Regions from separate parts of the Homo sapiens genome. Here regions 2, 3, 4, 5 and 6 are each linked to region 1. The links are contacts of gene promoters, found by promoter capture Hi-C in human tissues and cell types (Jung and others, 2019). All regions are on one chromosome and are shown on one strand. Each heading gives the region's core, a stretch centred on a gene start or on the middle of the fragment in contact. The rest is flanking DNA. Distances are from core to core; before and after follow the strand shown. Region 1 holds the start of RFC2 (replication factor C subunit 2). Region 2 overlaps GTF2I (general transcription factor IIi). Region 3 holds the start of GTF2I (general transcription factor IIi). Region 4 has its middle 29 kb from the start of MIR10525. Region 5 overlaps GTF2IRD1 (GTF2I repeat domain containing 1). Region 6 overlaps GTF2IRD1 (GTF2I repeat domain containing 1).

Region 1 (4,604 bases), core at 1,221-3,720:
ATTTTGGTTTCAATTTTATTTCCTTTCTACATGCTTCCTCTTGGTGTATAACTGCCTTGCCCTCTTGTGATGACAGTCTGGGAGCTTAGCCTCAGTGTGTATTTAATTTCCTGAGATTTGAAGGATTTGCTGGGAGGAATTCTCCGTGGCTACTCTATGCCCTTTCACAAGAGCCTGTGGTTTCCCCAGCACTCCCTGGTTCCCCAACATTGCTGTTTTTCAGTCCCAGGGGAGCGGCTGGAGTTTTTAAGTTCTGAGCTCTGTTTGGGCCCAAGTCCAATAGGTCACAAAAGGCTCAGTCTAAAAAAAAGAAATGTCCTGACAGTGCAGCTTTGCCCTAAGAGTCACCTCCATCTCTGGTTCTCCTGGCATTCCATCAGTTAGAGGAGAGCCCTAGCAGCGCCAAAAGGCCTCCTGTAGAGTGGGGGTTTTTGGAGAATTATGAAAGGAACCGTGTTCTGTACTTATTAAAAATTAGTTTCTAAACTGTGTTATGTGATGGGAGGGATGTGTGTCATAGTGATTACAAGGAAAACATGAAGATTACAAAGGAACAATCCTATGGAAAAACCGCGGAGACATTTCAAGAAAAGTGTATATTTCAAGAGGAGTGTGTATTTTCTCCTCCGGAAAAATAAAAGACCTGTGAATAATGATTGAAAAAACAGACAAGACCGCTCCATCAGTTTAAAGGGGGAATAGGGGAGAGATGGCCAATTCAAACATTTTTTCCAAATTACATGGAAAGAAAAACACTGTGTTAAGTTGTGAATCTGTATACGTTAATACTATCGTTAAAACCAACTGCTTGGCCAGACGCGGTGGCTCACACCTGTAATCCCAGCACTTTGGGAGGCTGAGGCAAGCGGATCACTTGAAGTCAGGAGTTTGAGACCAGCCTGGTCAACGTGGCGAAACCCCATCTCTACTGAAAATACAAGTATTAGCCAGGTGTGGTGGCACACGCTTGTAGTCCCAGCTACTCGGGAGGTTGAGGCAGGAGAATCACTTGAACCTGGGAGCCTGACATTGCAGTGAGCTGAGATCACACCACTGTACTCCAGTCTGGGTGACAGAGTGAGACTCCATCTCAAAAACAAAAAACAAGAAACAAAACAAAGAATGGTCAAAGCACTTGTGAATCTGAAGTACCTACTTTCTTTTCTTCTTATTTTTTTAGAAACAGGATTTCACTCTGTCCCCCGGGGCTGGAGTACATTGACTTGATCATGGTTCACTGTGGCTTCAACCTCATGGGCTCAACCGATTCTCCTGCCTCAGCCTCCCGAGTAACTGGGACTACTGTCGCGTACCACCACAACTGGATAATTTAAAAAATTTTTTTTGTAGAGATGGGGTCTCACCATGTTGCCCAGGCTGGTCTCAAACTCCTCGGCTTGAGGGATCCTCCCACCTTAGCCTCCCAAAGTTCTGGGATCATCATTATTGAATATTATGACAATTTGGGCTATGGGAGGAAAGATTGGGTAGAAAAACAGCCCATAAGAATGCTCAAAACCCTTGCAAGGTTGAAGTATTTACTTTTTCTTTTTTGAGACAGGGTCTTGCTGCAGACCAGGTTGGAGTGCAGTGGTGTGATCAGAGATCACTGCAGCCTGCACCTCCTGGGCTCAAGCACTCCTCCGCCTCAGCTTCCTGAGTAGCTGGAACTGCAGGTGCGCGCCACCACGCCCGGCTACTTTTTTAATTTTTATTTTTGTAGAGACGGGGATCTCACTTTGTTGCCCAGGCTGGTCTCGAACTCCTGGGCTTAATCGCTCTTCCGGTCTCTGTCCCCCAAAGTGCTGGGATTAGAGGGGTGAGCCACCGCACCGGCCTTGAGTCCCTATTTTCCTGGAATGAACATTGCATTTCATCTGACAAAAGGACGGTTTCAGTTTCCTCCTCTGCAAAATGGGGTGGGGGTGGAATTCCCATCTTGCAGCCGAGAATTCCCTGATAATAAACGTCGAGTACCGAGCGCGGTTGAGGCGCAGGAGCCTACCCAACGGGAGCAGCTCACTAGGACATTCAGAGCAATCTGGAAAAGTGGGCACGGGCAGCCCCAGACGTCATCCCCGGACCCCGCTGCCCAGCAGCGCCCGGACGCCAGCGTTGTCCGTGTCCCAACACCGAAGCCCGCGTTTGGCCGCAACCCCTCCAGGCCCTGCTCCTCCCACGCCGCCGCGGAGCGGATCTTCCACAGAAACCACACACAAACGTCCGTTCCGAGAGCGACCTGCTTTCTCGGAAGGCGTCGCGGCCACAGCTCGCCTTCCTGTCGCTCCCAGGCCGGGCGCCAGGTCTCCCATAGCAACCGCGGCCTCCAGCGATGGCCGCCAGGGCACCACCGGAACCCTCTTCGCAGGCACAGAGAGGCGCGGGTACGTAACTTCCGCTCGCGCCCGGCGGAAGCCAGGGGGCGGGGCTTGCGTGGCGGCGTCAAGGGGCGGTGCCTCGGGTGGCGGGAAGAGGAGGCGCGAGAATGGAGGTGGAGGCCGTCTGTGGTGGCGCGGGCGAGGTGGAGGCCCAGGACTCTGACCCTGCCCCTGCCTTCAGCAAGGCCCCCGGCAGCGCCGGCCACTACGAACTGCCGTGGTGAGGTCCCAGGCCGTAAAGAATGGGCGCGTTTGGACGTGAGGGTGGGCGAGTGGCGGGCCGTGCTCCGGAGAAACTCGGGGGTCAGGGGCTCGTTTTGGGGAATCCCGAGGGAGGAGGAGGCCCCGGGTGGCATCGAGATGATTTCAAGAAGGCGACGGACATGGATCGAGAGTGGCCGGTCTAAACTCTGCGAGCGGAGTCTCGCTCACTACAATGCTTATGACAATTAGGGCTACCCCGGGTGGCCACCTACTCTGACCTAGTTGGTTTTTTCAAAAGTTTTTGTGTATAGTAGTGTATGACCTAGTGTTTTCAAAAACTTCAATCTTTTAAAAAAAATATCGATTACATGTTGAAAATAATATTTTGACTGTTAGGTTCAATAACATTTACATTTGAAATTTTTTTAAAAAAATCAAGACGGGGGTTTTGCTGTGTTGCCCAGGCTGATGTCCAGCTCCTTGGCTCAAGTGATCCCCCTGCCTCAGCCTCCTAAGTAGATGGGACTACAGGCACGCACCACCATGCCCAGTTAATTTTTTTTTTTTAGATGGAGTCACACTTTGTCACACAGGCTGGAGTGCAGTGGTGTGATTTCTGCTCACTACAACCTGCATCTCCCTGGTTCAATCAATTCTGCCTCAGCCTTCCTAGTAGCTGGGATTACAGGCATGTACCATCACACCCTGCTAATTTTGTGTTTTTAGTAGAGGCTGGGTTTCACCATGTTGGCCAGGCTGGTCTCGAAGTCCTGATCTCAAGTGATCCGTCCGCCTCGCCTTCCCAAAGTGCTGGGATTACAGGCATGAGCCACTGTACCCAGCCTAGGCCTACGGTGTCTAGCCAGCTATGCTGTGTATTTGGCACACGTCTGCAGAAACTGGCAGGTAATCCTTGCCTGGCATGGTGGCTCACGCCAGTAATCCCAGCACTTTGGGAGGCTGAGGTGGGCAGATCACCTGAGGTTGGTAGTGACCCAAGATCGCACCATTGCACTCCAGCCTGGGCAACAAGAGCAAAACTCTGTCTCCAAAAAAAAAAAAAAGAAAAGAAACTGGCAGGTAAGGGATGAGAAAGGAGCTTGGTTGCACCCATGTTGTCACACCAAATGATGTCAGTGCTGTATGTGCTGGGCCTCTTGTGACGGGCGGACAGGGTTGCAGCACAGTGTCACATTGCTCCAGATGACCTGTGCTGGCCGTGCTCCAGCAGCAACAGGTGTTTCTCTGCTGTGGCAGGTTTGAAGCCTATGCTGTACAATTCTCATGCCTTTAACTTTTCAAATGGCACTTGGGCATCTTATTACATTTTATTTATTTATTATTTATTTTTGAAACAGAGTCTCACTCTGTAGCCCGGGCTGGAGTATAGTGGCATGCATGATCTCAGCTCACTGCAACTTCTGCCTCCCAGGTTCGAGCTACTGTGCCTTAGCCTCCCAAGTAGCTGGGATTACAGACGCACACCACCACATCCAGCTAATTTTTGTATTTTAAGTAGAGATGAGGTTTCACCATGTTGGCCAGACTGGGCTCAAACTCCTGACCTCAATTGATCCACCCGCCTCAGCCTCACAAAGTGCTAGGATTACAGGTGTGAGCCACTGCGCCTGGCTGTCATCTTATTACATTTAAAACTTGCAACCATTTGGCATAGTTGTACTGAATGTATGTAATTTTTTAACAAAGCTCTCAGGATAACCCTTAGGTGCTTTTTGTGGGGTAGTGTGAAGATAACCATGTCAGCATTTTTATGCATTTTCTTAACAGGGTTGAAAAATATAGGCCAGTAAAGCTGAATGAAATTGTCGGGAATGAAGACACCGTGAGCAGGCTAGAGGTGAGTGGCTTTTTTTTTTTTTGAGACAGAGTCTCGCTCTGTCGCCCAGGCTGGAGTGCAGTGGTGCGATCTCCGCTCACTGCAAGCTCCGCCTCCCGGGTTCATGCCATTCTCCTGCCTCAGCCTCCCCAGTAGCTGGGACTACAGGTGCCCACCACCACACC
Region 2 (4,604 bases), core at 1,221-3,720, 470 kb before region 1:
TGCCTGTAATCCCAGCTCTTTGGGAGGGTGAGGTGGGCGGATCACGAGGTCAGGAGTTCAAGATCACCCTGGCCAAAATGGTGAAACCCCGTCTCTACTAAAAATACAAAAAAAATTAGCCAGGCATGGTGGCGGGCGCCTATAATCCCAGCTACTCGGAGGAAGGCTGAGGCAGAGAACTGCTTAAACCTGGGAGGCAGGGGATGCAGTGAGCCGAGATTGCGCCACTGCACTCCAGCCTGGGCGACAGAGCGAAACTCCGTCTCAAAAAAAAAAAAAAAAAACTCTTAGCACCTGGTACATACAATGTGCTCAGTATTTGTGGAGGGATTAAATGAACATATGAATAGTTTAGTCCCTAATTATATGCTGCAGTCAAGTATCTGGCACTATCTTAAACATAAATTCCACAAGAAAGGGATGGTAGGTAGTCCAACTGCCCATCATAAACCCTACTAAAATACTGAAACTCTAAAAACGTATTATTCAAATCTTAGTACATAATTCCTCTGAGACTCCTTTTTTTACATATATAATTGTGTATTCATTAAGTGTCTGATTGGCAGCTATAAAAATAAAAAACACAGAAGTTTTCCAACGCTAACCTCCTCAATTACAGAGATCCTAAAAAACCTACAGTACCAGCTGCAGTAAGTGTGCCACGTGTGGTCATGTGAGTCAATTATATTTGAAATTATTTACATATACCTTTCAAAATATGAGAAATAAAAAAGCCAGAGTTTGACTTAGGAAGACGTAAAATTCATCACAAAATGAATTTACTTAAAATCAATTTAAGGGAAAAAAATCAGGTTAAGTAATGAACAGAGAGTTAGGCCACAGCAGAAGGAACACAGGTAACAGGTAAGTGACTCAGGTTTGGGAAGCTAGGCCCTAAGAGAGAACTGCGCAAGAAAGAAACCTCCTTTACACGGTTCTTAGCACTCCCATGACAGCTAGACCTGAAACAAGTCTGATAAGGTTTTCTCTGCACACATTAGAGATAACATACCTGACGGCAATTCACCTTAACCCAGAAATGTAGTCACGGTGTTTACGAAAACTGAGGCATGCGGTCCTATTAGTCCAAGGCCGATTTCCCAAACCTAAGTCACGTATGTTTTAAATGTTTACCACCGACTCCAAGTACAAATAAAACGCCACAAATGGAAGTGCACAGCTCAGAGCGCACCGGCAGTGGGTAAGTAATGACCCTGTATCCACAAACACGTCCGCGTCGGTGTCAAATTAGCCACTTCAGAACTCCACATAATTGCAAATGAAGATATCGAGGTGAAAACACTGTGAAAAATCGGACAGACTTATTTGATAACAAAGTTCTGTTTTTTTTTCTACCAATGATTTGGGAAATGTGAAAAGATATAAAAGGAGAAAATTAAGTCGTCTCCAAGCAAGCAGGAATATCTCAGTTTATTTTTGTCCGTCTTCCTACCAAGCATGAGTATTTTCCAAAACAAAACTAAGATTATCCTCTAGATGCACTTTTGCTTTTCAAGTTGCCTTGTTCTCAAGGCAGGATTTTTTTTTTTTCCACTGAACATTTTATATTAGAGATCTTTTTTCAGATTATTGGAAAACATTATCAGGATTTCAATGGCTATATATTTTTCTGTTATGAAGATATACCAAAATTTTATTTCCTAACTACGGGTATCTAAATAGCTCCTACCATTTGGAAGTAATCTTTCCAGAAAGAATATATGATACACATTATTAACCAGAGGTGTGCATGTAAGTTCTCACTTGACCTTCCTTGTTAATATTGAGACAGTTTTTTATCTTCTTAAAAAAATGAGGAATTTAATTGTTGATGTAATTTCTATATAATATACATATTTTTTATATATAATACATAAAATGTGTGTGTGTATATGCACATATGACATGGAAAATGCTACCTTTTAAAAGGATTACTTTACTCAGACCTGGTATTTCACTGGTCTTCTGAAAAGAAAGAGGTCTACTAGCAAAATTCTACTACTTAATCACAAATGTGAACATTAAATCAGGCTTATGGCACAATGTCTTAGTTTAAAAGAAATGAATGGCCAGGTGCGGTGGCTCATGCCTGTAATCCCAGCACTTTGGGAAGCCGAGGTGGGCAGATCACCTGAGGTCAGGAGTTCGAGACCAGCCTGACCAAGATGGAGAAACCCTGTCTCTATTAAAAATACAAAATTAGCCGAGCATGGCGGCGCATGCCTGTAATCCCAGCTACTCAGGAGGCTGAGGCAGGAGAATCGCTTGAACCTGCGAGGCGGAGGTTGCGGTGAGCCGAGATAGCGCCAATGCACTCCAGCCTAGGCAACAAGAGTGAAACTCCATCTCAAAAACAAATAAATAAATAAATAAACAAATAAATGAAAAGAAAAGAGATTTATTACTCCATCCAAAACAGTTAAAGTTCAAAAGGCTGACATAAGCTTCAGGTTCATGAGCCATTTATTTCTGGATTTTCGTAACCTTTCTTTAAAAGTCTTATACTATAAAAGCAAGTATTTACATTCTAAACCATTTTAATACAGCCTCTACAGGAGAATGGCGTGAACCAGGAAGGCAGAGCTTGCAGTGAGCCGAGATCGCACCACTGCACTCCAGCCTGGGCGACAGAGCCAGACTCTGTCTCAAAAAAAAAAAAAAAAAAATACAGCTTCTATCTGCTTTAAGATTTGACAAATCAAAATGGTTATTAGTCCTACCCTAAAAGCTTTATTTTTATAATTTTAATAACCTCCTATTAATATCTCCATAGAAAGGGCACAGCTGAGTAGTTGTAATATTTGTATGTTCTTAAGTTTTTTTCCTGTTAATGAGGTTTCTCACTAAAAACGAATTAAATTTCAACCATTTAATGCTGGACTGTAAACAATGCAAAATGTTTTAGATTAGAAAAATTATATTTATGAAAAAAGAAATCTGTATATTAAGTTAACACATGAAGTATGAAAAGATTTCTTGTATTAAGTGGAAGCTACTAATTGACTTATATTTTAGAAGCAATGAAGACAGACACGTTGAGTAGTTTGGAGTAGTCAAACACTAGAAATAACCAAGTGACATCAGTAGGTGACAGGTTATTAAGAGAGAAAGAGAGACAGACAGCAAACCAAGAAAGGTTACGCAGCAGCTAGAAAAAAAAACTAATAAAGTACCAAGATGTGCAGTTATGGGAGGGGGAGGCCTATGGAATATGTAATATTTTAAAATGTGCATTGTAATGTATGCTGAAAGCATCTGTGTATTTTCGCATCAAGATATGTACTGCAATTATTTCTCTAAGTAGACACAATAAGCTGGCATACATCCCTCAGTATTGGGACTTGGGAGCAGAGTGAGGGTGAAGAAAACTTTCCACTGTACAATTTACTGTACCATTTTCACATTTTACCACAAGAAAGAAGTACTTTCAGGGGAAGAAACTTACACAAGTATTGTGACACATTAATTTTAATTTTAATTTTTTTTTTGAGATGGAGTTTCACTCTGTCGCCCAGGCTGTAGTGCAATGGCGTGAACTCAGCACACTACAACCTCTGCCTCCAGGGTTCAAGCGATTCTCCTGCCTCAGCCTCCCAAGTGGCTGGGATTACAGGCATGCACCACCACACCCAGCTAGTTTTGTATTTTTAGTAGAGATGGGCGTTTCACCATGCTGGTCAGGCTGGTCTTGAGCTCCCGACCTCAGGTGATCTGCCTACCTTGGCCTCCCAAAGTGCTGGGATTACAGGTGTGAGCCACCGTGCCCAGCTGTGAGACATTAATTTAAAAGGAAAAACGCAATGCTCATTTAATAACTATTAATATGAAGTGATAGTTAATAATTCTATTAGCTGAATTTTCAAATAATTCAGGATAAACTGGCTCAGCTGAGTTCAAGCTTATCTTTGGAGAAAAAAACAGGTTTGAAGCAATCTTAGCTATAGAGAGTATTGTAGAATATATTTGTAGCTATTGCTTCAAAACAGTTTTGAAAGATAAATTGTATGTCAGCCTCTAAGTAGTATTTGCGGGTCGTTGAAGGGGGCAGGGACTTGCTTTAAAAATTACTCACTAAACTATCAACACTTTCTCCTCCACTTTACTTAATTAGAAATTAGGGATTCCAGCTCCAAATAAGTCTTCTTCTATCACAACCCAATAGATTATAGAATCTGTTTTTGTGTGTATCAAGTCTGGTCATAATTTTCTTTTTCTCTTTTCAACTCCCACTGATAGCAAGGATAGCTTGGGCCACCCGTGGGCCAATGCTAATTCTCACGGCCTCATTCTGTCATCTAAAACTCCCAAAGCACTGGGGAGTGGGCTGCTTTGGCCACACAGACACATGTATTCGTCCCACAAGTCTCCTTTAAAAATGAATGAAATGCATATTTAGCAATGTGAATGTGACAAGTATTTTTATGACCAGAAGTAAACTTTGGAATCAAGGCTTTTAGATAACTAACCTTCAATAGTCACCTCAACTTCAGGGTCCTCACTTGTTTCTGAAGGGACATGTTGAGTAGAATCTTGAAAAAAATAAAATTCTAAAATGACATTCATTATTAAGCATGTTTCCATATGTTCCAACATTTTACTGATTT
Region 3 (4,604 bases), core at 679-3,178, 400 kb before region 1:
AGGCGGGCCGATTGCTTTCAGCTTGATTCAAGAGTTGGAGACCAGCCTGGCCAACATGGTGAAACGCCATCTCTACTAAAAATACAAAAATTAGCCGGGCGTGGTGGGCACGCCTGTAATCCCAGCTACTCAGGAGGCTGAGGCAGGAGAACGGCTTGAACCCGGGAGGCAGAGGTTGCAGTGAGCCGAGATCACACCAGTGCACTTCAGCCTGGGCCACAGAGTGAGACTCCATCTCAAAAAAAAAAAAATTAGCAGGGCATGATGGCATGCGCCTGTAGTCCCAGCCACTGAGGAGGCTGAGGCAGGAGGATCGCTGGAGCCCAGGTGTTGGAGGCTGCAATGTGCTATGATTGTGCCACTCTGCGCTTCAGCCAGGGCAACACAGAGAGACCCTGTTTCTAAAAAAAAAAAAGAAAATTAAGCCGAAAGCGATGGCTCACACCTGTAATCCCAGCACTATGGGGGGCCAAGGTGGGAGGATCGCTTGAGCCTAGGAGTTCAAGACCAGCCTGGGCAACAAAGTGAGAACGCATCTCCACAAATAATTTTTTTTAAAAAAAGGAGGTCAGTAGTCAGCAAGAGCTGCGCATCGCCAAGAGTGGACACTACTCCAACAGCACCCCACCTGTGAACATCCCCAGCCGCAAATCAGCGCAAATCCATAACCTAGGGAGGACAAAATTCGCTACACGAAAAAGCAAAAGCTGGATTAAGAAAAAGTGGAGAAGTCGGGGAGCGGGAAGGAGACAGCTTTTTCCATTTCATTTTCCTTCTTCCTCTGCACTCCCGTCGTCTGGGTGCTGGCTGAACCCAGACGGCTTAATTTTCATGGCCTAAAGCTGAAGTTTTCCTTCCGGTCATTGTGTTTATTTCCCCCAAAGAACAGGCCCCGCGGGGCAGGCGCGCCGGGCCGGCCCGGGACAAAGCCCACTGCGGACTCCACCTGGGAGCGGGGCGGGGCGGGGGACAGCGCTCCCGCTCCCCCGCCCGCCGCAGTTACCAGGCAACGCGCGGCCCCGCCCCCGCGCCGGTTGGCCAATCCCGCGCGTCTGCTGCCCCGGCGCAGGAGCCCCAGATACACCAGGCGAGCGCGACCCCACGACGGCTCGGGCCTGGCACCGCGCGCGCCCCCGCACCGCCTAGCCGGCCAATCAGCGCGGCGGGGCATGCGCAGCCCGCAGGGCCGCTCGCTCGCTCGCGCGCGGGATCGCACGCGCGAGGCGCCCCCCCACCGCACGCCGGTCGGCGCGCGCGCCCCTCCCCCACGCGCACTGAGGCGCGCGCGTGCCACTGTCGTCCCCCGCGACCGCGTCCGTGCCGCCCCACCCCCATCGCCTCGTTTCGGCCACTGCCAAGGCCGGCGGGGCTCGAGACCCGGCGAGGCGGTGGGGGTGGGGGTAGGGGGAGGCGGCACGGGCGCCCCCCAAGGCCCCACACCGCGCGCGGCGGGCCGCGGCTCCCAGGCCCCTGTCCCTGCAGGCCCCGGCGGGGCAAAGTCTCTAATAAAGGCCCCCGCTCGCAATGGCCCCCGAGGCGGGGGCGGGGGGCGCGGGGATGAGGCGAGAGGGACTCACCCGAGTGCGGCCGCCTCCAGGCAGCTCCGGGGCCGGGGGTGCCGAGGGGAGGCGAGTGTGGGCCGCGCGCGGGCTGCGGCCGCCGCGGAGCAGCCTCGGCTGAGGGGAGCTGGCGAGCGGACGGGAGGCGAGAGGGGGCGAGGGGCCCGTGCGTGTCGGTCGCGCTCCTGTCACCGCCGCATGGCCGCCCCGCAGGCAGGGCCTCGCTCAGCGCCTTGATCCGATCACTGGGGGACAGAGGCAGAGGCCGGGGTGACCGCGGCAGGCGGGCGGCCGCGGCTGGAGAGCGCGTGCGGGGAAGCGGGGGGGCGACCGGTGGCCCCTTTTCTCTGCTCTCCCAGCTTCTCTCTCACCCTCCTCCTCCTCCTCCTTTTTTTTTTCTTTTTTTTCTTTTTTTTTTTTTTTTTTTTTTTTTTTGTTCCTCGAAGGCGCGTTGCGCCTGCGCATCCGCAGCGCCGCCCAGCGGGAGTTGTAGTTTCGGATGCGTTCCCCGTCAACGCGGCGGCGGCGGTCGTGGACTACAACTCCCAGGAAGCACCGCGCCGGCTAGCCCCGAACCCGAGGACGAGGCAAGCGCGGCGCCCGGCCCTCTCCAGCAAGGGCTGTCAATGGAGGCGAGGGTGGTGGGAGCGAGAACATGGCTGCACCTGGGGCCTGCGCGGCCGCCCGGGTGGGGGAGGGGAGCCGGGGTGCAGAAACGGAAATCTGGACGGGTGGTGGCTCCGGCGTCGTCCCCACCGAGCGCCAGCCGCCGTCCAAGTCCGCCACTTGCTCTTGCACCCCACATTCCTTGCAAATTGCGAGGCAGGGAAGCTGCAAAAGCCGGGGAGCCCCGGGCTGGGCCGTCGCCCTCCTTGCTCTGCAAAAGGGGAGTCCTTCCGCCTTGCACCACCCTCCAGGACACAAAGAACTCCTCTCTAGTGTTTTCCAAGCTGGCCTCCAAAGAGACCGTTGCCCCCAAGTTCGGACAGGCGAGAGGGGAGGAGACCTTGTGTTTTAATTCCTCCCCCAGACCCTCCGCCTCTATCTCTCCCTCAGGATTTGGAAGGAAACTTGCAAGGGAGTGGGAGCAGAAATCCTGACTCGTAGCTCCTGTTTTGTTCTGTCAACCGCGATGCGATTTAACTCAAACTCCTCCCCCTACCACTATTTTTTGCTTCTCAACTTGAATTAGCCGGTGGGTTTTGAAAATGGAGAGACATTACTGTTCACCTAAGTTAAACTCCAAAACTTTACAACCCCGAGGCCGACGATTTTTAGATGTTTATGTAAAGCACGAGATTGAGTGGTTTTTTGATTCCCGCCCGCCCCCCCACCCAGTACCACCCACTGGGGATTCGGGCCACGACGGCCATCCTCCCCCCACCCGCCGCTTCTCGGTAGGTGGCGACCACGACGCTTTTTCCAGCCTCCAAGCCTTTGTCGCTAGCGAGAAAACTTTCCGAGCAGCCAGTCTTTTGATGTGGGTTCCAAAAACCTTTCCTTTCAATCTGGGTTCTCCGATTGGCATTCCCCATCGTCTCTCTTGCACAGACCGCACCCAATAAAGCCTCCTCTAGAATTTTCATGTTGGATTTTTTTTGAAAAATACATGGAGAGCGTAAAGCTCACCGGAGAAGCAATCTGATTACAGAAGCCTGAATTTTTGCGATTTCCCGGACAATGTCTAGGATCCCTTCGGTCCTTGCCTAATAAGATTGTGACTCTCCTTTGTCGATTGTCTCGAAAGTCATTCATTAAGTTTGCACAAGAGCAACTTTCTTTTTGCACTTGTATTTCATTGACATTTAGTAATATTTAATTAAATTCTCTATTCCCAATACCACGTGCCACTGGCATATATTTAGGAACAAATTTAACTCTTGAGAAGCCTATAACTCACTCTAGTAAGAGCAGCCAGCCTACGAGATGCAGATTTCAGCTGCTGTGGACTTCAGTGAGTATCTTTTGTTGAGAGAGTGGTTTCTCCACCTGGAGGGGTCAGGGAAAGGATTTCCTGGGTATAGTGGAGTCGTGGAGTAGAATTTGGGGGGATGTTACAAAGTGAGTTAGCAAGGCAGAAGTTTATTTAGCCAAGATGACTCTTATCATCGTGAAAACGTTTGGAAGGTAGTTCCTTTCTTCTATGAATTTGTTTAGTGGTTCACAGTGGAATTTTTTTTTTGAGACCGAGCCTCGCTCCGTCACCCACGCTGGAGTGCAGTGGCGCGATCTCGGCTCACGGCAACGTCTACCTCCCGGGTTCAAGTGATTCTCCTGCCTCAGCTTCCTGAGTAGCTAGGATTATAGGCGTGCACTACCACGCCCAGCTAATTTTTGTATTTTTAGTAGAGACGGGTTTCTACTAAACATGTTGCCCAGACTGTTCTCGAACTCCTGACCTCAAGTGATCTGCCTTCCTCAGCCTCCCAAAGTGCTGAGATTACAGGCGTGAGCACCGCACCGGGCCCACAGTGGAATTTTGCTGCCTCTTCATAAACAACTCCAACTTCTTTGAGACTGAAGCAATTCCTAAAACGGTTAGGTCAACATGAGCTGGTTTTGAATTACCTCTAGTCAGAAAGCTGTCTCTGTTGAGGCAATGTGTATGCAGACAAAGCGTTTTTCTGAGCATTTTGCCATTAAGGTTTGTAACCCTCAAATTCATGTGTTACAGTCATAAAGATCTTGCGTGTTCTGTCTTCATTAAGGTCTGGCTCACTGCGGCTTGTTGGAACACTTGTCAACCAATTTCTCCTTCATCTTAGTGGCATAGATACTACATTAATTGTGGCCATTGTTATAAATCACTTTGGATACTATCTCTCTGCAAAGCTGGGGTTTTGTTTTACTTTTTTTTTTTCCTGTTTTTGAGACAGGGTCTTACTGTATCACCCAGGCTGCACTGCAGTGGTTCGATCACAGCTCACTGCAGCCTCCAACTCCAGATTCAAGCCATCCTCCCACCTTAGCCTCCCAAATGCCTGGGACAACATGTATGTGCCACCACACCCAGCTAATTTCGTTTTTTGTAGAGACGGGTCTCAC
Region 4 (4,604 bases), core at 1,039-3,538, 370 kb before region 1:
AGCCTGGGAAATACGGCGAAATCTCCCATCTCCACACACAAAAAATACAAAAATTAGCCAGTTATGGTGGTGTACAGCTGTAGTTCCAGCTACTTGGGAGGCTGAGTGGGGAGGATGGCGGAGCCCCAGAGGCGGAGGTTGCACTGAGTTGAGATTGACCCACTGCACTCCACCCTGGGTGACAGAGCAAGACTCTGTCTCAAAAACAAAAAAAAAAAAACAAAAAAAAAACAAAAAAAAAAACTGTCTAAAAAAACAAAATATATATATATGTATATATGTATTTTTGAGATGGAGTCTTGCTCTGTGGCCCAGGCTGGAGTGCAGTGGTGCAATCTCGGCCCACTGCAACTTCCTCCTCCCAGGTGCAGTGATTCTCCTGCCTCAGCCTCCTGAGTAGCTGGGATTACAGGAGTGTGCCACCACACCTGGCCAATTTTTGCATTTTTAGTAGAGACGGGGTTTCATCATGTTGGCCAGGCTGGTCTTGAACTCCTAACCTCAAGGGATTCACCCGCCTCGGCCTCCCAAAGTGCTGGGATTACAGGCATGAGCCATTATGCCTGGCCTTTATATATATATTTTAAATCATAGGTTTTATTTAAACAGACAAATCCAAGTGTATGAAAGAGACCTCTGTGGTGGAGAAAGAAAAAGAAAGCAAAGCAAAACAAAGCAAAGAAAAGAAAGAGAAAGAAAGAAGAAAGAAAAAGAAGGAAGGGAGGGAGGGAGGAAAGAAGAAAGGAAGGACGAAAGGAATGAAAGAAGGAAGGAAGGAAGAGAGGGAGGGAGAGAGGGAGTGGGTGGATCACCAGAGCTCAGGAGTTTGAGACCAATCCAGCCAACATAGTGAAACCCCGTCTCTACTAAAAATACAAAAAAAAATTAGCCGGGCGTAGTGGCACGCGCCTGTAGTCCCAGCTACTTGGGAGGCTGAGGCAGGAGAATGGTGTGAACCCGGGAGGCGGAGCTTGCAGTGAGCCGAGATCCCGCCACTGCACTCCAGCCTGGGCGACAGAGCGAGACTCCGTCTCAAAAAAAAAAAAAAAAAAAAAAAATACAAAAAGTAGCCGGTTGTGGTGGTGGGCACTTGTAATCCCAGCTACTTGGGAGGCTGAGGCAGGAGAATTGCTTGAACCCAGGAGGCAGAGGTTGCAGTGAGCTGAGATTGTGCTATTGCACTCCAGCCTGGGCAACAAGAGCGAGACTCTGTCTCAAAAAAAAAAAAGAAGAGAAAGGAGGAAGGAAGGAAGGAAGGAAAGGAGGGAGGGAGGGAGGGAAGGAGGGAAAAAAGAAAGGAAAGAAAGGAAATCTAATTGAGAGGCCAAACTGGGAGGATCTCTTGAGGCCAAGAGTTTGAGACCAGCCTGGGCAACAGAGCAAGACTCCATCTTTACAAAAAAATAAAAAGAAAATTAGCTGGACATGGTGGCTTGCATGTGTAATCCCAGCTACTTGGAGGACTGAGGCAGGAGGATTGCTGGAGCACAGGAGGTCAAGGTTGCAGTGAGCTATAATCACAGGACTGCACTCCAGCCTGGGTGACACAGCGAGACCTTGTCTCTAAAAAAAAAAAAAAAAAAAAAAAGAAAATATAAATTTCAAACAAGATCATTTTTCACAACTACTTGAAGAACTGCTGCCACCTCATGGAAAATTTTTATAAACTTCCAGTTTAGGCAAGAATCCACATTCGCTGTCTTCCAGAGTGTTCCTCTAGTCAACAACGTTGTGTAAAGTTCCCTTAGATCACCATTGTATAAAGTTCCCTTATTTCCCCTGGGAATCATTGGCCTGAAACTGCAGTTTTATCATCGTGGGTCAGTTTGAAAGTGGTTAGAATATTCTAACAATGTGCTTAGAAATAAAAAAAAAACTTTCTTTTTTTTTTTTTTAAATTGAGATGGAGTCTTGCTCTGTCACCCAGGCTGAAGTACCGTGGTGAGATCTCGGCTCATTGCAATCTCTGCCTCCTGGGTTCAACTGATTCTTGTGCCTCAGCCTCCCAAGTAGCTGGGATTACAGGTGTGCGCCACCATGCCCAGCTAATTTTTTTTTGGAGACAGAGTCTTGCTCTGTTGCCCAGTCTAGAGTGCAGTGGCATGATCTTGGCTCACTGCAAACCCTGTCTCCTGGGTTCAAGTGATTCTCTTGCCTCAGCTTCCTGAGTAGCTGGGATTACAGGCTCCTGCCACTGCGTGTGGCTAAGTTTTGTATTTTTAGTAAAGATGGAGTTTCACCATGTTGGCCAGGCTGGTCTTGAACTCCTGACCTCGTGATCCAGCCACCTCAGCCTCCCAAAGTGCTGGGATTACAGGCATGAGCCACTGCGCCTGGCATGCCTGGCTAATTTTTGTATTTTAAATAGAGACGGGGTTTCACCATGTTGGCCGGGCTGGTCTCGAACTCCTGACCTCAGATGATCCACCTGCCTCGGCTCCCAAAGTGCTGGGATTACAGGCATGAGCCACTGCACCCGGCCCAAGATTTCTTTTTATTTTATTTTTTAAGTATAGAGACCAGGGTCTCACTATGTTGCCTAGGCTGGTCTTGAACTCTTGGCCTCAAGTGATCTTCCCACTTGATTTTCCCACCACACTCAGCCTCTTTTTCTCTTTTTCTTTCAATTTAATTAATTTTTTTTTTGAGACAGGGTCTCACTCTGTTGCCCAGGCTGGAGTACAGTGGGGCCATCATAGTTTATTGCAGCCTCAATCTCCTGGGCTCAAGTGATCCTCCCACCTCAGCCTCCAGAGTAGCTGGGACTTCGGGCATGTGCCACTTCACCTGGATAATTTTTAAATTTTTTGTAGAGGCAAGGTCTCCCTATGTTGCCCAGGCTAATCTCGAATTCCTGGGCTCAAGCAATCCTCCTGCGTTGGTCGCCCAAAGTGCTGGGATTAATTAAAAAAAGAAATAGTATTTCTGTTGTAATTCAAATTAGCAAAGAGGAGCTAAGGATTATGAAAATTGTTCTTTACAGAACTTCATCTCTGTTATTTATTTTATTTTATTTTTTGAGACGGAGTCTCACTCTGTCTCCCAGGCTGGAGTGCGGTGGCGCGATTTCGGCTCACTGAAACCTCTGCCTCCTGGGTTCAAGCGATTCTCCTGCCTCAGCCTCCCGAGTAGCTGAGATTACAGGCACCCACCACCACACCCACCCAGCTAATTTTTTTTTTTTTTTTTTTTGGTATTTTTAGTAGAGATGGGGTTTCACCATGTTGGCCAGGCTGGTCTCAAACTCCTGACCTCTAGTGATCCGCCTGCCTCAGCCTCCCAAAGTGTTGGGATTACAGGCGTGAGCCACTACGCCTGGCTCATCTCTGTTATTTTAAGAACATTTCAGTAACAAACATACTGCCACATGCCAGACAGGATATTTCATGCCTGTGTTCTTTCACGCACACCTGAAAAAACCTTCCTACGGCTGAATTCCAGATAATTCTTGTTTCGTTTTTTTTATTTTTTTATTTTTTTGGAGACAGATAAAAATAGTCTCTCTGTCACCCAGGCTGGAGGACAGTGGCGCAATCTTGGCTTACTGCAACCTCCGCCTCCTGGGTTCAAGCAATTCTCCTGCCTCAGCCTCCCGAGTAGCTGGAACTACAGGCGCCCACCACCACGCCCAGCTCATTTTTGTGTTTTTAGTGGAGATGAGGTCTCGCCATATTGCGCGGGTTGGTTTCGAACTCCTGACCTCAGGTGATCCACCTGCCTTGGCCTCCCAAAGTACTGGGATTACAGGCGTGAACCACCGCGCCTGGTGGAGAATTCTTTTTCTCAAGGCTCAGCTAAGGATAGGCTCTTCCTTGAAAATGTCCTTCAACTCATCCTGGCAGGGTGGGCTGTGTTCTCCTCTTTGTTTCTGCAGGATTTAGTGCCTGCTGCTAGGGTCGTATTTATTATTACCGTATTTACTGATGTAGCACCGTATCAGTTTTTTGGTAATAATTGCGTGTGTGTGTTTTATTATTATTATTGTTATTTTGAGACAGAGTCTCACTCTGCCGCCCAGGCTGGAGCACAGTGGCACAACCTCAGTTCACTGCAACCTCTGCCTCACAGGTTCAAGTGATCCTCTGGCTTCAGCCTCCCGAGTAGCTGGGATTACAGGCATGCGCCACCATGCCTGGCCATCCTTTTTAAAGAAGTTTACTATTAGCCAGGCATGGTGGTGCGCGCCTAAAATCCCAGCTACCCAGGAGCCTGAAGCACGAGAATCGCTTGAACCAGGGAAGCCGACGTTGCAGTGAGCTGAGATTGTGCCACTGTGCTCTAGCCTGGGCAACAGAGTGAGACCTTGTCTGAACACACACAAAAAAGTAGTTTATTGTCTTGCAGGTCTGGAGGCCAGAGCCCAAAAGTGAACATGTCAGCAGGGTTGATTCCCTGTGCAGGCTGTGTTAAGTGGGTGATGATGACAAGGATGATGGTGAGAATCTGTCCCATGCCTCTGTCCTAGGGTCTGGTGGTTTCCTGGCAACCTTTGGCATTCGTCAGCTGGTAGATGCATTGCTCCAAACATGCGCCTTCACATGGTGTTCTTGCTGAGTCTCCCCACCTAGTCTTCCTTTTGCCTCTGTGTCCAAATTTTCTCCTGT
Region 5 (4,604 bases), core at 1,134-3,633, 330 kb before region 1:
ATCCCAACTACTCAAGAGATTGAGACAGGAGAACTGCTTGAACCCAGGAGGCGGAGGTTGCAGTGAGCTGAGATCGCGCCACTGCACTCCAGCCTGGGCAACAAGAGCGAAACTCCGTCTCAAAAAAAAAAAAAAAAAAGAAAAGAAAAGAAAAAAAGAAAAAGATCCCATGTCCTGGAAGTGGCTGAACTTTGGGGTGGTACAGGGGAGATGACTGATGGGCCTAGTGGGGTCCATGCACAGGGGCCGGTGTCACTGTGCTGGGCTGTTGGAAATCCCCTGACCGCTCGCTGACCAAGGTCTGTGAATGGGAAACAGACCGTGTCTGGGAGTGTGGGGGCCGTGCATTCTCCCTGCTCACTGCCCAGGTAACCGTCACGGCCTATCTGCTGCTTGAGCCCTGGTGTGCTCTGCTCTCCCCTCCCTGTAGCCTAGAGGAGCTGCTGGAGTCAGTTAGCCCTGGAGATGGGGCCTGAGCTGGGCTGTAAGGCTGAGTGGGGGTTGGGCTGGAGATGGGGTCTGGGGCAGAGCTCTGCAGCAGCCTGTGGGCTTGTGCCAGGGTTGAGGACGGGGCTGGGATTGCAGGAAGGGTGGTTTGCATGTCCAACAGGAAATCTCCTCTCTGAGAAGCGTGGGGTCACATGGGCTGGGCCTCTTGGGGCAGGCGGGTTCGGTAAGGGTGAGATGTTGTGGGGTGGAGCTAGACGCAGGCAGGGAGCCAGGGCCGGATGATTCAGGGCAGAGCAGACTGATGGGTCTTTGGAGCAAAATGACTCCTGTTTTTTTTTCTTTTTGTTTTTCCAAGACAGAGTCTCACTCTGTTGCCCAGGCTGGAGTGCAGTGGCACGGTCTCGGTTCGCTGCAACCTCTGCCTCCCAGGTTCAAGCCATTCTCCTGCGTCAGCCTCCTGAGAGCTGGGACTACAGGCGCCTGCCACAACGTCCGGTTAATTTTTGTATATTTAGTAGAGATGGGGTTTTGCCATATTGGCCAGGGTGGTCTCAAACTCCTGAGCTCAGGTGATCTGCCTGCCTCGGTCTCCCAAAGTGCTGGGATTACAGGCGTGAGCCACTGTGCCCAGCCTGACTCCTGTTTTTTGAGACAGGGTCTCACCCTGTTTCCCAGGTTGGAGTACAGTGGTGCCATCATAGCTCACTGCAGCCTTGAACTCTTTGGCTCAAGCAATCCTCCCCACTCAGCCTCTCAAGTAGCTGGGGCTCCAGGCATGAATCACCATGCCAGACTAAGTTTTTTTAAAATTTTTTGTAGAGAGAGTCTCTCTCTGTTGCACAGGCTGTTCTCGAACTCCTAAGCTCAAGCGATCCTCCTGTCCGCAGCCTCCGAAAGTGCTGGGATTACAGTTGTGAGCCACTGTGTCTGGCTCTTTTAATCTTGAAAACTCTGGGAAGAGCTCACTTCTGTTTAGGAGGCTGCCTTGGGAACTGCATCTCCTGGCGTGGTGCTCTGTGCTGCTTAGAGTCTGCTGACCCCGTCTGGGTGGCTTGGCCTCCCGTGCGCAAGCTGCCAGAATGGAGGCCCTGTTCCCCATGTGGGGGTTGCCCCAAAGAGCAGGGAGCTTCCCACAGGACAGAGGCTGGGCACCTGCTTGGCCTGGTTCCTCCTTTTCCCAGGGCTCCAACACCCACCACCTCAGGTCCTCCCAAACCCTGCAGGTCCCTGGCCTGGTCCGTCCACACCCACACTCAGCAATCTCTGCACATCTCTGAGTTGCTGATCTGTCTTCAGGCACGGCCCGCCAGCCCCCCTGCGTGCCCAGAGACACTGCAAACATCAGCCATTCCAGACAACGTCCTCCTCCCGTGTCCCTATCTCGTGGAGTAATGCCTCTAATTCAGCCACACAAAGACCCCACGCTCCACATCCCCTAGAACCCTCGTCTTCTCCTGTGACCCAACACGGGCCTTCCTTTCAGGACTAGGATGTGGGAAGAATCAAGGCCACCCTTGTCCAAATCCATGCAGACAACAGTGATGGAGTCCTGGGCCCAAGGACCAGCTCCTAGAGCCTGCAGGGAAGCAACAGCACATTCCATCTGTCCCCATGCCACTGAGGAATCTTTGGTGGCAGGATTCTCAGCAGGCATGGCCATGCATGCACAGAACAGAGAAAGGATGGCCTGGATCACACACATCACTGTGTGCAGATGCTTTCCTAGACACTGCAGCCAAAGACACAGAGGCTCAGAGAGGTAAAGAAACTTGCCCAAGGTCACACAGCCTCTAAGCACCAGGAGTACTCTGTGTCAACCCCAAAGCCCTGGTCTTTCCACTCTACCATGAGCCCTGGGTTTCCTGAGGTCTCAGATTCCTCTACAGTTTCTTTCTTTTTCTTTTTTTTTTTGGAAGAGTCTTGCTCTGTCACCCAGGCTGGACTGGAGTGCAGTGGTGCGATCTTGGCTCACTGCAACCTCTGCCTGCTGGGTTCAAGTGATTCTCCTGCCTCAGCCTCTCGAGTATCTGGGATTACAGGCACCCACCATCACACCTGGCTGATTTTTGTATTTTTAGTAGAGATGGGGTTTCACCATGTTACTCAGGCTGGTCTCCAACTCCTGGCCTCAGGTGATTCGCCCACCTCGGCCTCCCAAAGTGCTGGGATTACAGACGTGAACCACCATGCCCAGGCTCCCCTACAGTAGCTGTAGAAAGAAGGCTTAATCTTTAAGATAGTTTCCTCTAATCTGTTGCTCTCAGCCCACAATGCCACACCTCTGTCTTCTCCTGTGTCGGGACAGAGCGAGACTCAAAGTCAGAGCTCTACGAAACCTGCAGGACAGAAAGAAGCTTAGCAGGCCTCTCAAAGACGAGGCCCAGACCGGGCACGGTGACTCACGCCTATAATCCCAGCACTCTCAGAGGCCGAGGCAGGTGGATCACTTGAGGTCAGGAGTTCCAGACCAGCCTGGCCAACATGGTGAAACCCCGTCTCTACTAAAAATACAAAAAATTAGCTGGGCGTGGTGGTGCATGCCTGTAATCCCAGTTACTCAGGAGGCTGAAGCAGGAGAATCCCTTGAACTGGGAGGTGGAGGTTGCAGTGAGCTGAGATTGCGCCACTGCACTCCAGCCTAGGCGACAGAGCAAGACTCCGTCTCAAAAAAAAAAAAAAAAAAAACACCAAACAGGCTGGGCGCGGTGGCTCACATCTGTAATCCCAGCACTTTGGGAGGCCGAGGTGGGTGGATCACCTGAGCTCAGAAGTTCGAGACCAGCCTGTCCAACGTGGTGAAACCCCGTCTCAACTAAAAGTACAAAATTTAGCCAGGCGTGGTGGCAGGTGCCTGTAATCCCAGCTACTCCGGGGGCGGAGGCAGGAGAATCGCTTAAACCTGGGAGGCGGAGGTTACAGAGAGCCAAGATCGCGCCATCGTACTCCAGCCTGGGGGACAAGAGCGAGACTTCATCTCAAAACAACAACAACACACAAAAAACCCAAACAAACAAAAAACATGGGACCCCAAACTTACTATGCCAAAGGGAAATGTTAAGCTTGGGAACTGAGTCACGCAATAGCCTTTTGTTCCTAAACAGATGGCTGCAAGATAGAAGGCCACCTAGCTCCCCTGGTGGCCTCCCTCACCCTGGCCATGTAAATTCACAGCTTATCTTCACAGGCAGGGGACAAAGATAAGAATAGAAATCATTGCTCTGTCTACCCAAGACAAATGCCTATATGACTTCCTCTACTCTATTTACTTTATCTTATGTAAAAGGCAGATTTACTGAGCACAGGATAAATACATCATTAACTATTCCTCTTCCCCCTTTATTTTTTTATTTTTCGAGACAGAGTCTCCCTGTTTTCCAGGCTGGAGTGCAGTGGCATGATTTTGGCTCACTGCAACCTCCGCCTACCGGGTTCGAGTGATTCTCGTGCCTCAGCCTCCAGAGTAGCTGGGATTACAGGTACCCGCCACCACACCTGGCTAATTTTTTGTATTTTTAGTAGAGATGGGGTTTTGTTATGCTGCCCAGGCCAGTCTCGAACTCCTGACCTCAGGTGATCCACCTGGCTTGGCCTCCCAAAGTGCTGTGAGCCACCGTACCCAGGCCCTCTTTCCCCTTTAAATACCAAAGTCCTCAAAACTCTGGAAAAAAGCACAGGCCACAGACCCTATTGCAGCTTGAGTCTCTTTTTCCTGGCTGTGTCCTCCCCCATGGCAAAATAAATCTTTAAATTGATTGAGACCTGTTTCAGGCACTTTTGGTTTACATGGCCCACGGGGGTCTATAGCAGGGATCCTGACCCAGCTGGGAGTCAGGGAGGACTTCCCAGAGGAGGTGACCACCACACGGGGCCCAAAGCTCCAAGGATGTGGGCTCATCTGCACGCTGGGGCTCATCACACGGACCTCCAAGGCAGTTGTGAGCGGTGAGTAAGACACAAGGAAACTTGTAGTATCCTGTGATTTCAGGTGCTCAACATGCTTTAGCCAATCAGGAAACTTCCCCTCTTCCTTCCAAGTCTTGCCTGGTCTGGGAAGAAGTGCAACCCTAAACCAGGCTGCAGCTAACCAGGAGTGACACTACGGGGCAGTCGATAGGATACTATGGCAATTCTATATGGGGCACAGGTCCCAGGCG
Region 6 (4,604 bases), core at 918-3,417, 310 kb before region 1:
AGGGACTTGAATGAGGCGGCACTTTCCCATGGCCCACATGCTGCCTAAGACCCTGAAGGCTGACTCCTGGGCACTGTCCCCAGCCACCCGCCTCTCTGCAACTATCTGCCACCCCTCCACCTGCCCTGGGACACCTGCCTCCAGATGAAGGGGTCTGCTATTTCCCCTGCCTCCCCCAGCAGACCCCAGCTTCCACTCCGATTCACCCTGGAACTGCCGGTGCTGGCCCAGGCCAGGCTTCGGGAACCGTGTGAGGGAGAGTTTGAGAAAAGCCCATTCTGGTGCAGAAGTAGCACTCAGTGACCTCTGGTGAACCCTCAGAGACTCCCAGGAGCCTGGACGTGTTCCCAGCCCAGCATGACTAGTGGCATGAGTAAGTGTGGATACCTGGTGGATACCTGGCTTGGGTGCCAACGCCTGGAAAGGGGCTGGCAGGTCCATCCCTGAGGGCTGAGGCCACGACCACCTGCTAGCCCTGGGACACAGAGTATTAACACATCACTCACACCGAGCCTCAGTCTCCCCCTCTGTAAGGTGGGCTCTAGCGTCAACCTCCTAGCTATGAAGACTAAATGAGATGCCTCCTCTGTCTGCACTCTGCTGTAACCCTAGTTCCTCTAGAATACCACCTTGTCCCAGCAGGACCTCCCAAAATATGTGTGAAAGGCACCCGCATAAAGCACCAGTGCAGGGCCAGAAACCCAGTGACCTCTCAGCCGGGTGTCCACTGGAGCCACACTCACTGCACTGTGCTGCTGCAGCTTCCACTCTCTCCACCTTTCCAACATCATCTGACCACTCTGCCCCTCCGAGAGCTCCGGAAACACACTTCTGGCATCCAGTGACCCCCCAACCCCTGCCGTTCACCCCGCCAAACCCACCCTCCTCTCTGCCTCTCAAAGTCCCATCTTCCCCTGAGGCCCAAGCAGGGCCATCCTTACTCCAGGAAACCCTCTCCAACTACCCCTCACCCTCCTGATCCCCCTTCTGGGGGTTCCCGTGGCCTGTCAGCAGCCGCCACATCACTGTACCCTAAGTTCTTTTTTTTTTTTTTTTTTTGAGACAATCTAGTCCCGTCGCCCAAGGTGGAGTGCAGTCGCGCGATCTCGGCTCACTGCAACCTCTGCCTCCCGGGTTCAAGTGATTCTCCTGCCTCAGCCTCCCAAGTAGCTGGGATTACAGGTGTGCGCCACCACACCTGGCTAATTTTGGGATTTTAAATAGACATGGGGTTTCACCATGTTGGTCAGGCTGATCTCGAACTCCTGACCTCAAGTGATCCTCCTGCCTTGGCTTCCCAAAGTGCTGGGATTACAGGTGTGAGCCACCGTGCCTGGCCCGCCCTGGAGGCTCTGGCCAGCCCTTAGTGCTTGCCAAGTGGCATGTCGCCCCGCAGGGACAGCCCCTGCAAATCTGGGTTTGGGATCACCCTGCAGGGACAGCCCCTGCAAATCTGGGTTTGGGAGGCCAGGACACAGTCCATGGTGGAGACAGAAGTGGATGGGTGCCTTAAAAAGGGTCAGGAGGTCGGGTGTGGTGGCTCATGCCTGTAATCCCAGCACTTTGGGAGGCTGAGGCAGGAGGATCACTTGAGGCCAGGAGTTTGAGACCAGCCTAGCCAATATGGTGAAACCCAGCTCTACTAAAAACACAAAAATTAGCCGGGCATGGTGGTGCCCACCTATAATCCCAGCTACTTGGTAGGCTGAGGCAGAATAGCTTGAACCTGGGAGGTGGAGTTTGCAGTGAGCAGAGATAGTGCCATTGCATTCCAGCCTGGGCAACAAAGTGAGACTTGGTCTGTCTCTGTCTCTCTCTCTCTCTATATAATATTTTTTATTATATATATAATATTTTTAATTATATATAATATTTTAATTATATAAATATTTTTAATTATATATAATATTTTTATTATATATATTTTTTATTATGTATATATTTTATTATATATATAAAATATTTTTTTAAAAAGGGTCAGGAGAGGCACTGCACTGTTTAAGGCAGGGTAGGCGCCACCCACATCTTACCAACATGCTTGTGGTCCCCATGCAGACACCCCTCCTTCTGCGGTTAGGAACCCACTCACCTCCAACCTCGCCTATTCACTGAGGTCAACCAGAGCCCCTTTATCAGGAGGAGCAGGTGCACTGACTCGGCCTGGCCCCTCCCTCCTGAACCCAGACTGGGTAAAACTTAGAAGTCACTGACGCCACCACCCCTTTCTCTGTCCCAGGATCTGGGGCCACATTCAAGCTTAGTCTTCCTCCATCTACCTGGGGCAGGAGCCCAGGTAAGGTGGCTAAACAGAAGGGCAGAGGCCTAGGCCGGGCGCAGTGGCTCACGCCTGTAATCCCAACGCTTTGGGAGGCCGAGGTGGGTGGATCACTTGAGGTCAGGAGTTTGAGACCAGCCCTGGCCAACATGGTGAAACCCCGTCTCTACCAAAAATACAAAAAATAGCCAGGTATGGTGACAATTGCCTGTAATCCCAGCTACTCAGGAGTCTGAGGCAGGAGAATTGCTTGAATCCAGGAGGTGGAGGTTGCAGTGAACCGAGATGAAGCCACTGCACTCCAGCCTGGGTGACAGAGAAGGACTCTGCCTCAGAAAAAAAAAAAAGAAAGGCAGGGGCCTGGCTTCTGTTCCCAGACCCCAGAACCTGTGCCCCACAGCAGGCTTAGCTCCAGTCCCCAGCACCACGATCGGGCCCTATTCCCAGTGCCCCCTCCACAGCCAGTGCCTCTTACCAGGCTTTGGGATGAGTCCTTGGAAAGGCCTAGAAGAGAAACAGAGGCAGGGGTGTCATGGGGAGGGCCTGGGGGATGAGGAAGACACCCCTGGGATTCAGTGGCCTCGGTCTCCCCTGGGAGCACCCCAGACCTACAGCAGCAGAATCTGCATTTTAACAAGCTGCCCTGGGGCTCTGTGTGTGCGGGACACTGAGACAATGTGGCAGGGTGCTGGCATTGGCAGTGTCACTCTGCAGGACGCAGACCTGGGCCTTGTGCAGGCTTTGCCCTGGCTGGCCCCGGGACCTTGGGCAAATCCCTCTGATGGGGGCTGAATACCTTTCCCGGGGGCTGGGGGTGCAGTGAGCGGGTGTTGCTGAACAGGTTGAAGATGCCCTCAAAGGCTGCCCTTGCCATGGGGGGGTGACCAGTCCCACTTCTGAAGGGCTCCCTTCACTTGGGCTGGCCTGCAGTCCCTCTCCAACCACCCCCAGGACCCAGGATGGTGCCAGGAGAGCCACCTTGTCCAGGGGGGAGGGCAGGACCTAGGGAAAGGCTAAGGATTCGCAGGTGCAAGCTCCCATCTGAGCTAGTCCTGCCTCTTCACCCTCACCCTTCCCACTGAGTACCTGGTGACTGTGAACTTGATCTTGTCAGCCACAGCAAGAATCCTCTCCAGGTTCTGGGAGCCGAAGGTACAGGGCTTTCGGAACGGGATTCCTGGGGGCAGCCCCTCGATGATCACGGAGCCGGGGTTACTCTTGATCCGCTTGTAGGGGACCTGGACCGGGTACTTGATGCCCAAGGCTTCCCCTGTGGGCGAGAGGCAGGGTCCTGCCCGTCAGGAGTGAGAGGCAGCGTGGGGTGTGTGTACATGGGATTGCGGGGATGTGATGGAAAGACATGCGTGCAGGAGAGTGAATGGTACGAGAAAGCTCTTATGTAGTGTAGCACTGTGGAAAGGTATAGGCATTACAATCTGAGCTGTTTGATCAGAACATAAAAAAAAGGCCAGCATGGTGGCTTATGCCCGTAATCCCAGCATTTTGGGGAACCAAGGCAGGAGGATCTCTTAAGTCTAAGAGTTCGAGATCAGCCTGGGCAACACAGCAAGACCCTGTCTTTACTAAAAATTTCTAAAAACTAGTTGGGCATGGTAGTGCCCAGTGGGGTGTAGTTCCAGCCACTTGGGAGGCTGAGGCAGGAGGATTGCTTGAGCCCAGGAGTTTGAGGCTGTAGTGAACCATGATCACGCCACTGTACTCCAGCATGGGTGACAGAGTGAGACCCTGTCTCAAAAAAAAAAAAAAAAAAAAAAAAAAAAAAGAAACGAAAGAAAAAGCCACACCAATATGCTCCCATGTCATATGCTCCATTTTTTTTTTTTTTTTTTTGAGACGGAGTTTCGCTTTTGTTGCCTAGGCTGGAATGCAATGGCGCGATCTCAGCTCACTGCAACCTCCCCCTCGCAGGCTCAAGCGATTCTCCTGCTTCAGCTTCCTGAGTAGCTGGGACCACAGGTGTGCACCACTGCACCTGGCTAATTTCTTTTTTGTGTTTTTGGTAGAGATGGGGTTTTGCCATGTTGCCCAGGCTGGCCTCGAACTCCTGAGCTCAAGTGATCCACCTGCCTCAGCCTCCAAAAGTGCTGGGATTACAGGCAGGAGCCACTGTGCCGGGCCCTTGTCTATTAAATTCTGTGTGTAGTTCTTGAAAGTGTATCTCACCTCATTGGTCTGCAAGGCTCATGAGTACAGGGACTGTGTCTGTTTTATTCACAGCAATATCCCCAGTGCCTGAGACAGTGCCTGGCACGTAGTATATGCTCAAGAAATACATGTAAAGGGGTGAATTGTTTCCCCAGAAATGCCC

The links. Contacts are between HindIII fragments. The study calls those that stand out against the background at their distance.
Region 2: a contact is called between a fragment that was not itself captured here and the fragment with the promoter of RFC2 in region 1, in 1 of the 25 tissues and cell types used here (dorsolateral prefrontal cortex).
Region 3: a contact is called between the fragment with the promoter of GTF2I here and the fragment with the promoter of RFC2 in region 1, in 1 of the 25 tissues and cell types used here (dorsolateral prefrontal cortex).
Region 4: a fragment that was not itself captured here is called in contact with the fragment with the promoter of RFC2 in region 1 in 1 of the 25 tissues and cell types used here (dorsolateral prefrontal cortex).
Region 5: a fragment that was not itself captured here is called in contact with the fragment with the promoter of RFC2 in region 1 in 6 of the 25 tissues and cell types used here (H1 embryonic stem cells, IMR-90 fibroblasts, dorsolateral prefrontal cortex and 3 more).
Region 6: a contact is called between a fragment that was not itself captured here and the fragment with the promoter of RFC2 in region 1, in 1 of the 25 tissues and cell types used here (lymphoblastoid cells).

The regions. Positions count from the first base shown.
Region 1 is chr7:74,252,265-74,256,868 of GRCh38, reverse strand. It overlaps RFC2 (replication factor C subunit 2), which reads left to right and starts at 2,470. Exons shown (of 11, transcript NM_181471.3): 1 at 2,470-2,598; 2 at 4,371-4,440. The coding sequence starts at 2,486. RefSeq lists enhancers at 2,077-2,156, 1,630-2,232, 2,567-2,796, 2,233-2,835, 2,836-3,438 and 2 more and a silencer at 2,397-2,516. The HindIII fragment of the contact is 19,783 bases long and covers 1-4,604 here.
Region 2 is chr7:74,718,804-74,723,407 of GRCh38, reverse strand. GTF2I (general transcription factor IIi) reads right to left here. Exons shown (of 35, transcript NM_032999.4): 12 at 4,467-4,529. The region is part of intron 2 of GTF2I-AS1 (GTF2I antisense RNA 1); the gene reads left to right. Among named protein-coding and RNA genes, the nearest start is that of GTF2I-AS1, 7.8 kb to the left of the region's middle. The HindIII fragment of the contact is 4,068 bases long and covers 437-4,504 here.
Region 3 is chr7:74,655,042-74,659,645 of GRCh38, reverse strand. It overlaps GTF2I (general transcription factor IIi), which reads right to left and starts at 1,928. Exons shown (of 35, transcript NM_032999.4): 1 at 1,578-1,928. RefSeq lists silencers at 769-1,288, 1,359-1,648, 1,669-1,848, 2,219-2,378 and enhancers at 1,949-1,998, 2,019-2,138. The HindIII fragment of the contact is 40,491 bases long and covers 1-4,604 here.
Region 4 is chr7:74,622,645-74,627,248 of GRCh38, reverse strand. No RefSeq gene overlaps it. Among named protein-coding and RNA genes, the nearest start is that of MIR10525, 29 kb to the right of the region's middle. The HindIII fragment of the contact is 7,153 bases long and covers 1-4,604 here.
Region 5 is chr7:74,583,642-74,588,245 of GRCh38, reverse strand. The region is part of intron 22 of GTF2IRD1 (GTF2I repeat domain containing 1); the gene reads right to left. Among named protein-coding and RNA genes, the nearest start is that of MIR10525, 10 kb to the left of the region's middle. RefSeq lists enhancers at 163-322, 343-392, 1-458, 459-1,046. The HindIII fragment of the contact is 6,527 bases long and covers 1-4,604 here.
Region 6 is chr7:74,557,802-74,562,405 of GRCh38, reverse strand. It overlaps GTF2IRD1 (GTF2I repeat domain containing 1), which reads right to left. Exons shown (of 27, transcript NM_005685.4): 21 at 3,362-3,545; 22 at 2,751-2,779. Among named protein-coding and RNA genes, the nearest start is that of WBSCR23, 28 kb to the right of the region's middle. The HindIII fragment of the contact is 5,828 bases long and covers 1-4,604 here.